3 separate regions of the Homo sapiens genome follow, and all the other regions are linked to region 3. Evidence: promoter capture Hi-C in 16 types of primary human blood cells and fetal thymus (Javierre and others, 2016). All regions are on one chromosome and are shown on one strand. The core of a region is centred on a gene start or on the middle of the fragment in contact, and the rest is flanking DNA. Distances in the headings are between cores, read along the strand shown.

The links. The method cuts DNA at HindIII sites, captures the fragments that hold promoters and counts their contacts. A CHiCAGO score of 5 or more calls a contact.
Region 1: a fragment that was not itself captured here is called in contact with the fragment with the promoter of COL4A2-AS2 in region 3 in 1 of 17 cell types (endothelial precursors); the score reaches 6.8 in endothelial precursors.
Region 2: a fragment that was not itself captured here is called in contact with the fragment with the promoter of COL4A2-AS2 in region 3 in 1 of 17 cell types (endothelial precursors); the score reaches 5.8 in endothelial precursors.

The regions. Positions count from the first base shown.
Region 1 is chr13:110,229,971-110,232,966 of GRCh38, forward strand. All of the region lies in intron 2 of COL4A1 (collagen type IV alpha 1 chain), which reads right to left. Among named protein-coding and RNA genes, the nearest start is that of COL4A1, 76 kb to the right of the region's middle. The HindIII fragment of the contact is 7,457 bases long and covers 1-2,996 here.
Region 2 is chr13:110,280,306-110,283,687 of GRCh38, forward strand. The region is part of intron 1 of COL4A1 (collagen type IV alpha 1 chain); the gene reads right to left. Among named protein-coding and RNA genes, the nearest start is that of COL4A1, 25 kb to the right of the region's middle. RefSeq lists an enhancer at 3,116-3,382. The HindIII fragment of the contact is 1,259 bases long and covers 1,243-2,501 here.
Region 3 is chr13:110,462,037-110,465,142 of GRCh38, forward strand. It overlaps COL4A2-AS2 (COL4A2 antisense RNA 2), which reads right to left and starts at 1,251. Exons shown (of 5, transcript NR_171022.1): 1 at 987-1,251. COL4A2 (collagen type IV alpha 2 chain) reads left to right here. Exons shown (of 48, transcript NM_001846.4): 23 at 78-150; 24 at 242-348. The HindIII fragment of the contact is 13,540 bases long and covers 5-3,106 here.

The DNA.
Region 1 (2,996 bases), core at 9-2,508, 230 kb before region 3:
AGCTTGGCCCACCAGCTCTCCTGTCCCCTTCCACAGCATCAAATCCACACTGAGTGCCCAAGGGCAGCACCCTCCAAAATCCCCCACTCAGGAAAAAGGAGCAGAACCAAGCCCAAAACAGGTGGACGAGGAGGGCTCCATTCAGGCCACGTGGTGGAGGGGGAGGGCTGGGAGGTTCCTGAAGAAAGTGCGTGTGTGTGTGAGTGTGTGCCCGTGGTGTGGGTGTGCACGGTGTGTGTTCCATGTATATGTAAGTGGTGTGTGTGGTATGTATGTGTGTGTGGTGTGTGTATATGTTATGTGTGTGGTGCGTGTATATGTATGTGTGTGGTGTGTGCGTGTATGTGATATGTGCATGCACGTGATGTGTGCATGCACACATGTGAAGTAGAGAGGACAAAGCACACAGGTGGCAGGCGCGGGTCATCAGGGCTCGTCGTGACACCCTGGAAAATCACACAGGTGTACATGAGCCCTGAACAGAGAGAAAGGAAAAGTGGATGGGAAATTGTGGTGGGAGGAACAGAAAGGGCAGAAATTTTATAAAGGGAAGAAGGGTAAAGGGGGCGAGTGAGGTGGGACGGGTGGTGCACCTCCTCTAAGACCACGGGGAGCCTCCCCAGCCTCCTGCAGAAGCCACTGCACCTCCGGCCCCCACCACACCCTGCCCAGGTCCCTATCAAAGGCCCCCAAAGAAGAAAACACCACTCTGCTTTCTGCCCCAGTCACGCCAGCGTGCTGTTCCTCACGTTTGCTGGAAGTCCCCCCGTGGTATGTTCCTCTGCCCTGACAGGCAGGACACCTGTGGAGCCACGGTCTCCTGTGAAGAAATGCAGGTTCCACGTGCAGAGGCGGAAGCAAGGAGGCCTCCAGCCGCCCGGAACCTCTGCTCCCAGGGCTCCTGATGTGTGGTCCAGGCAGGACAGGGCACACCCGTTTACCCAGGGCCTCTACATTCAGATTCAGGGCAGGGCACCCAGCCCCTCCTCCCAATCAGGAGGCAGAACCCAACACCTGCCACCCACATCAGCCCCGTCAGGATGATTAATGACGTTGCATCCATAAAACTCCAAGAACCTGGAGACAGGGTGCTGCCTCCCAAAGCCCTGACTCAGAAAAACACACAGCATTTCCAGCCCGCGTGGTGAGGAGACAGTCAGTGTGGGAACAAGATCCACCGAGGTGCCTCTTGCCCTTGCCCAGGACATATCGATGAGACTGGGGAGCCCCACATGGGGACACAGAGAGTCAAACAGCGACAAACAGTTTCACACTCATGGAGATGTGTCCTTTAACATTCTGGAGTCTTGTACGTGGAAGTGAGAAGGGGGAGGTGAGGAGGCACAGTTGTCCATGGACATTTCTCAAAGCACCAACATTTCCAAATCGGGAAAAACCTGACGTCAAACAGGGAAATGGAATTTGGAGGCGTAAATCATGGGCCACCGCACCTGAGCGGCTGCCTGAGCTTTTGGGGCCTGCGAATGACCGTTCGGTTTGCCCTTCCCTGCCCCCTGCAGATCAATTTCTTCCCATTGGACATCCATTCTCGCAGCCGTGCCTTCTCCCTCCCTGGAGGTCTTAGCAGAGTGTTCACTTGGGGGTTCAGTTGTGCTATTACTGGCTAGCATCTTCCATCATGAACCTGTAGGGCAGGCTCCAGGACTGCCGCTGGCCACTACCCAGGCCCACGGGTACAGCAGGAGCCCACAGGACAAGGAGGCACTGGGATGAGTGGACATTGGTTCTCCAGCTCAAGGAATTTACTGGCTCTACTATAGACAGATGTCATTCCTTTACCAATCTTCTAGGGAAAACCACTTCAAAATCAAGCATGTCACCACATGCCACAGACTTGGGTACTCAAGTCTTAGGGTTGTGGATTTCTCACCTAGGAGGGCAAATTAACCTAAGGCCCTAACATGCTACAGCGGGACGCCCACAGAAAATTCTCTGGTTAAGTCCTCAAGCTCTAGCAAGACGTGTGTAAGAAATTCACATCTATCATTCATTACCTTCAGGTATTTGTCCAAATATCTAATAAAGGAGAAACCGTACCAAGGGTCTTTAACCCTTCTGATTTCACTACAGCTTTTTAGAAATTAGCCAGGAATCACTGTTAGCTTCTCGTGTCAGATTCTCATGTGAGGAAATCCAGAATCATTGAATTTGGGGCCAGTTAGCATTAAACTCATAAAACTATGTGACGAACCAAAGCTAAGCTATATGAAGTATACTTTTACCATGTTTAATGGATTTGCCAAAGGAAGAAAAATCTGACAAAGGGGCACCACGTCCCCAGAGCCATCTGGTTTGCTCGTTAACTCTGACTAATTCTTCCTTTGTTTAATTGCACATTGTGCTAAACCACTTCACAAGGATGAAGGTCTGTTAATACCATTTTTGAGCGTGCAGTTCTCCACACCCACACTACCTAATTATCTAGCATCACAACTTGCTGTCTAGAAACGTGTTTGAATGCTCAAAATATTCTACCAACAAACAGGAGGAAAATCCCATTGCCCAGTTTTCATTTGTCAGGGTTTGTTTTATGTTAAGTCTTTGATCTTGAATTAAAATATACACTCTCATTTTGCTCCCCTGAAAAGAAAGCTATTTTCCTGCCAGCCAATGTTTTGTCAAGATCATATTTACAAAAAAATATTTTTTCCCATAAATAGTCGGGACAGAGGCTGCCGGTGCTGGGCCACACCAATGACAGCCTGTACTCCTGGAGAGTGCTCTGGGCTTTAAAAGTCATGGCATGTGATCTGCCATTCGAGATACTTCATTTTCTGCTGCTCCTTCTGAACTTGGAAACAGAATCGGCTCCCTATTTTTAAAGCTGCACTAGATTCGGTAAGCTCCAGATACAGCTGCAAATCAAGAGCCATCAATTTGTATGATGGTCTCTCCTGAGTCTAACAGGTCCCACAGCGCATGGCAAAAGGGCAGATTTTACGGTGGGCAGAACTAGGAAGTGGAGCTGGAAACGA
Region 2 (3,382 bases), core at 622-3,121, 180 kb before region 3:
CACACTTGGTGCCTATTACCCAGCAATAGTCAGCCACAAGTTTCAGATAAAGGTCAAAAGTGAAATGCCTTTAGGAGTTCCCTCAAAATCTTAAAATAAAAGTCACATTCCAAACTTCATAATTCTCATGAATACATCACAAAGTCACCATTATGCCATTGAAAACGAAAACAATTCTATGCTTGTATTACAAGAGAAAGTATTCAAAAAATGAATTATATAGAATCTTCAAGTTCTTGCTCACAAATCATGGTTTGCTTTGGCTTAGCAGCGCCGCATGGCATGGGCTTTACGTATTACACCTCTGAAGACAGAGGACAATCCCACGCCTACATCTGCAACACCAAATTTGGTGTGTTGGTTTTATAAGTGGCCTCGAAAAATCCCCTTTTCAATAATTCTGGTAAGCCTCTTTCATCTTGGTGCTATTCTGAGAACTTGTAATCTTGCTAGTAATACATGAATATAAATGTGAAGGAGAATTTTCTTTCTTTTTTCAAGACCTAGAGCCTTTCTTATATTCTTTCAACGAACACATGTTATGAAATACATCCGAGATCTGGCTGAAGGTTTCTTACTCTAATGCTCTGCCTTTGTGTTCAATATATGCAACTATCTACTTAGATCGCCGTATTATACTTTGTTTGCTTCAGGAGTGATCCAATTCCTTTGGATCAGTAAAATATGGCTTTTCTCCTCACCCCAACCATGTGTCCCATTTTTTTAGCCACTCGAGCATAAAAACAATTCTGCAGCTCTAAACTTTTTCAGAAAACAGAACATCCTTTGGCCAGAGAACTCAACAACATCTTTGACACCATCAACTGGCTTGTGTAAGCCACAAAACGTGGCCGGCACTCTCTCCCGTTTTCTTCTCTTGGGATAACAGCTGTAAGGAGCAACACTGTTCTGTGATGACACGACTCTGGGAAGACTAACCTCCCCCCGCCATCTCCTACAGCCAGAATTCTTATTTCCCAAAACAAAACGTGAGAAGCAGAAATACTGAGAATTTTTTAATGTTCCAAAAAGTACTCTGTGCTCCTTGAAGGACATTTTCTGACATTATTTCAAAATACTTTATGAACAGTAATTAATTCTTGAGAAGGACCAAAGGAGAACCCAGATGTGCCATAAGCCAAAAACAGCCAGATCATTCACAAACTGCAGTGAAGGGAAAGAGAAGAGGAAGTGGTTACCTGCTGCAATATAGAGAGAAAATGTTTAAAAAAAACAGTAGGAAGCTTAGATTTCCACTATGGGGGCTCACACAGAAACTCAATTTCATCAAAAATCTATAAATTAAGTAATTAAGAAGACTAGTCAAGATTTGGGTAGACCCTTGATCAAAGAGTAAAGTCTTACCCACTTTACCTCCACTATCTGAAATAATTAGTACCTCTCAGCCAATGAATTTTCACAAAATAAGGGACTCTTCTTCTAATGGTATGGCCGTTTACCAATCTGGCAGGAACATCAATTCCCCTCTCACATTTTAGTAAACTTACTCAACCCATCTGTTTCTCTGCCCTTCAGAGAGTCGGCACACAGTTCTGTGGATGTTTTCTGCAAAAGGCCCTGACATCTACAGTTTCTTTCGCATTCCCCTGGCCACCTTCCCTGCTCAGATCTCCATCAGTTTATGCCTGAAACACAACAGCTCCCTTCAGTTTTCCTGGCTGCGTGTCCTCGCCTCACCTTAGGGCCTGCTTACCATTATCCACCTAGTCTTACTTAAGAGGATTCTCCCCAGCAAAGACCCTTGGTCACAAATCACCAATTACTCACCAGTTTCTAGTGTATAAAACTTTTACAATTTGACCTCTCTCCCCTTGTCAGAATTCCCTACCAATGCTGGAGAGGTGGCATATCAATGTCAATATTGTAAACTTGGATTCAGACAGACCTGAGTTTGAATACTAGTGGAGAAAAGTCCTTGACCTTTTGTTTTCTCATCAATAAAATGGGAGTAAGACAACCCACCTCACACTGTCATTGCGCAGACTGTGGGGGACTCATGTAGAGTACTGGCACATCAAGGGAAGCTGGTGGTGACTCTTAGGTATTATCACTTTCCTACTCATGCTGTGCATTCTAAGCTGTTCATTGTGTCTCCTCAATGCCATCTTCATCCCTACTGTACCTTCCCTGGCATGGCTGCATCCACGCAAGTCACCCTGTCCTCACTTCCAATGCACATCCTTTAGATTAGCAATGGCAAGCTGGTTTCAACTCAAGTGTCAATTCCTACCAGTCAAGGATGGCTGCAGGAGCTCTGAATTGGGGAGAATTTTGAGGCCCTGCCAAGGTCATTGAGATGAAGTGCTCTCACATAACTGTGTGTCCTACCCTGGGACATGGCTTCTCCAAGCACAGGGTCTGTACCCTGAAGTATATGTCCCTGAATGGCATCCCTGCTGTGCCTACTGATTCTCCTGACCTGTTTTGGGGCACCTGTGTTGGCTTCCAGGGATCATGAACTCTTTATTTAAGTATTCACAAGCTTTCTGTCAAAAAAAATCAATTTGGAAATATAATTGTCCATGCTAAGTTCACTGATATGTGATTTCTGGAATTCAATTTTGTTCTTTCGTGGCCATCGGAACATTGCCCTCTCCAATCTTCCTGCATGTCTCCACATTTCAAAATCAAAATGAGCCAGTGATCCCAGTCGCTTCCAGGTGCCCCTGAGGCCCTGGGGCCTCACCTCCAAGCATAAAGGCTTCAGTTAGTTTTAAGCAATTGCATGGTATCTTTCTCTCTCTTTGCCTTGCCTGTGATTCAGTTCTCTCCTTACCATGTTTTATTTAGTGTTCCCAGTTTGAAGGATGTTCAGTTCTTCATAGGAAAGACAGAGACTGAAGAGTAATTACTTGATTCTCTCTGTCATCAAATAATATAATATGTTCAGAAAAGACGAGTCATCGAATCAGAGATTTCAGGAAAAGAGAGGTTCAAGAAAATAAAGAATAATGTAGACTAGAAAATTTTATGTCAGCAGCTAGTTTTTAAATCATACATTTGCTTTTTGACATTGAATAGAAGTGGCTAATAAGCCAAATGTGAAATGTGTTGATGTCACTAATGTAGGGAGATGAGAATGTGAGCCGTGCCCAAGCCATGATGTAAACTCACTAAGAACAGCAAGAATACAAAGGGAAGGGCCAAGGTGTCTGGGCGCCCCATAGGCACACGCACACTCTCACGCACACACACGCACATGTGCACCTGCACACACCTTTCTGTGTATACAGACATCTGCATATGCAGACACATGCATACACTCCCTCACATACAGGCACACATATGAACACAATGCACACTCAGGCACATGCACACAGGCATGTGCATGCTCTCACACTCATGCACACACCCACACATG
Region 3 (3,106 bases), core at 1-2,500:
AAAAAGCTTGCCAGCCATCTTCTCAGATGCCCTCACAGTACAAAGAAGGAAGATATTTTTTTGTCTGTTTTCCACAGGGAGTGCCTGGCAACATTGGTGCTCCCGGACCCAAAGGAGCAAAAGGAGATTCCAGAACAATCACAACCAAAGGTGAGTTCCTCTCTGGCCACGCGGCCCCTGGGGCACTGAGCCTTCCTGTGGGCACCTGCCTGGGCAGCTTCACATGCAAATCCCTTTCTAGGTGAGCGGGGACAGCCCGGCGTCCCAGGTGTGCCCGGGATGAAAGGTGACGATGGCAGCCCAGGCCGCGATGGGCTCGATGGATTCCCCGGCCTCCCAGGCCCTCCCGTGAGTAGCCACAAACTGCGGCAGCTCCGTCCTCTCTTCTTCATCCTTCAGGTTCTCCAAACACCCCAGAAGCAAACAGTATTGACATGAGCACTAAACCAACCTGTGCATAGGACAGGCTGCTCATTCTGCTCATTCTATTTCTAATGAGCAGAAATCAGACTTTTTAGGAAACGGTGAATTAAGTTAGAAGCCAAGCTCCAAATGAACATTTAAAAGTCAACAATCAAAGAAATATTCCTCCTGGTGTAACAGACTAAGAACCCTCCCCCGCCAAAAAAAGTAGACTATTCTAAAATGGGTGGTGGAACCCTATTTTTCCAAGGTAAATCATGAAATATACAATTTCATTTTTGCAACAAACACACACTGGTGTTGAAGGAGGGGCTACCTAGTAGCCTGCAGAGACCCCAGCATCATTTCCTCAGGGGAGGCTGGGGTCAGAGGCGCGGGAGGCAGCCATGGAGGGAGACAAGACCCCTTCCTGTGCACCCTCCAGCCTCTGAGCCTCTCCTGCCACCACGCCTTTCCCACTGCCAGCTCTGGAGCATTCTCTTCTCAGAAGGACCTTGCAACCTTATTTCTCACGTCTTTTTTTCTAGATTCCATTTTCCTCCCTCTAGTCACCAAGCCTGTACCTCCTTAAGCTCTTTGTACTGGTTTCCTGGGGCTGAGGTCACAAACTGCCACAGACTGGGCAGCTTAGACATCAGAAATGTATGGTCTCACAGCTCTGGAGGCTGAAAGCCGACATCAAGGTGTCTGCAGGGCTGGTTCCTTCTGAGACAGTGCGGGAGGATCTGTCCCTGCCTCTCTCCCAGGTTCCCGGAGCTCTGGCATTCCTTGGCTTATAGACGGCTGTCTTCTCTCTGTCTTCTCATCATCTGTCCTCTCTGTGTGTCTGTCTCTGGGCCCAAATTTCCCCTTTTTATAGGGAGAGCGGTCATATTGGAATGGGCCCATCCTAAAGACCTCATCTGACCTTGAGCACCCTCAAAGACCTTATTTCCAAATAAGGTCACATGTCTAGGTCCTGGGGGTTAAGACTTCAGCATCATTGGAGGACGATTGAAGTCATAATCCTCTTTCTCCTCCTCAGAGCCTCACGCCTGAATTCTATTCGCAGCTTATTTGCCTCATTCCATAACCCATGTCTTCTCTAGTTTTAACGTGGGTCATGTCTGTAATAACACTCTTGAGTGCAGTGGTACAATCAAAGCTCACTGCAGCCTCGAACTTCTGGACTCAAGCCATCCTCCTGCCTCAACCTCCCGAGTACCTGGGACCACAGGTGCACACCAGCACACCCACCTAATATTTTTAAAATTTTCTGTAGAGATGAGATCTCTCTATGTTGCCCATGCTGGTCTCAAACTCCTGGGCTCAAGTGATTCTCCTGCCTTGGCTTCCCAAAGCACTGGTTTTATAGACATCAGCCACCACACCCGGCCCACATTTTTACAATTTAAGTGCAGTTTTTTGGGGCCAGAGAACACAGATAATTCTATGATTGGGTATCTTAAAAATCTCATCTGGGAGGCAACAGGGTTAAATAAGAGGCAAAGTCATAATTGGTCACTTTAGCCAGAAGAGGAGGATGAGTGATGATTCCTGTGGTTGGAACAGTCTTTGGCCTGTTCAGTGTCATGTGGGGTGGGGGTGGTGAGTGTATGTGTGGTGTGTGGTGTGCTCATGTGTGTATGTGTGTGGTCCGTTTGAGTCTGGATTTGTTACGGTAGTGGTGGCCTTCCCTGGAGTTGGTGCCTTGTGAAGTTGGTGACCAGGAGGTGCACCTGTCCAGCCATGGGGTTCACCCACCCCTGCGGCTCCCAAGCCTGGCTGCCAGTCCCAGCCCAGCTGGGGGCAGGTGGTCGGAGCAGGGTTAGGGGTAGGGGTGAGGGTTAGGGTCAGGGAGAACCTTGCAGCCTCAGCTTCCCATTCTCGGGGTGTAGGGACTTTCCCAGTGCTTGTGTGCCTTCCTTGTTTGGTGGCATCTCTAAACCAAGAATGTCAACTTCTGCCTTTAGAAAACTCGTGATCCTGCCTGTGCCACCTTCCAGTGGCATCATCCCCACTGCTGTCCACTAAGTTTGGGGCATCTGCCCTGTGATCTCTGCAACAGCCTTGTGTCCCCCTCCCCTGTGAAAAAAAGCTAAAACACAGGGGTACACCACTTAATCAAGGTCTCATAAATAGAGCTGGACCGGTGTCCCTGCCCCGCTCCGTCATGCCTTTGACAAGGAAGGGGCTGTGGTGTCAGTGGAGAGCAGGGTTTGATTTCTTATAAGCAGCTGCCTCATTGTCATGAGAACACCCAGCCTCGTCCCGTGGCTCAGCAGATGAGCGGGAGCTTATGCGCATGGCTGTTCCACCAGCACGTGGGGACAGCACCGAGCCGTGCCGTGGTGTGTGCGCAGATCACACCAGCATCACTGCTGCCAGCCTCCCCACCCCATCCCTGCACCTCCCACCAGCTCCCCCCCGCACCCTGCAGCTGGTGCTTTCATCCACAGGGCAGCCCCTCTCCATTCCCAATCCTGTAATCTCTCCTGACTTCTGAGGCGCACACGGCTCTTTCCTTGTCCAAATTAGCTTCCTTTCCTTTAACAACGTAGCATCTCTTAAAATAACAGCCATTTTACCGATGCTAAATTATAACAACAAAATCATGTGTTTCTTTCTCCACCCACAGTAGAACACAAAAGCCTGTGCCTTCGCTGTTCTGGAGATGAAGGCCCAGGCTGATGCAGGGGAGCTG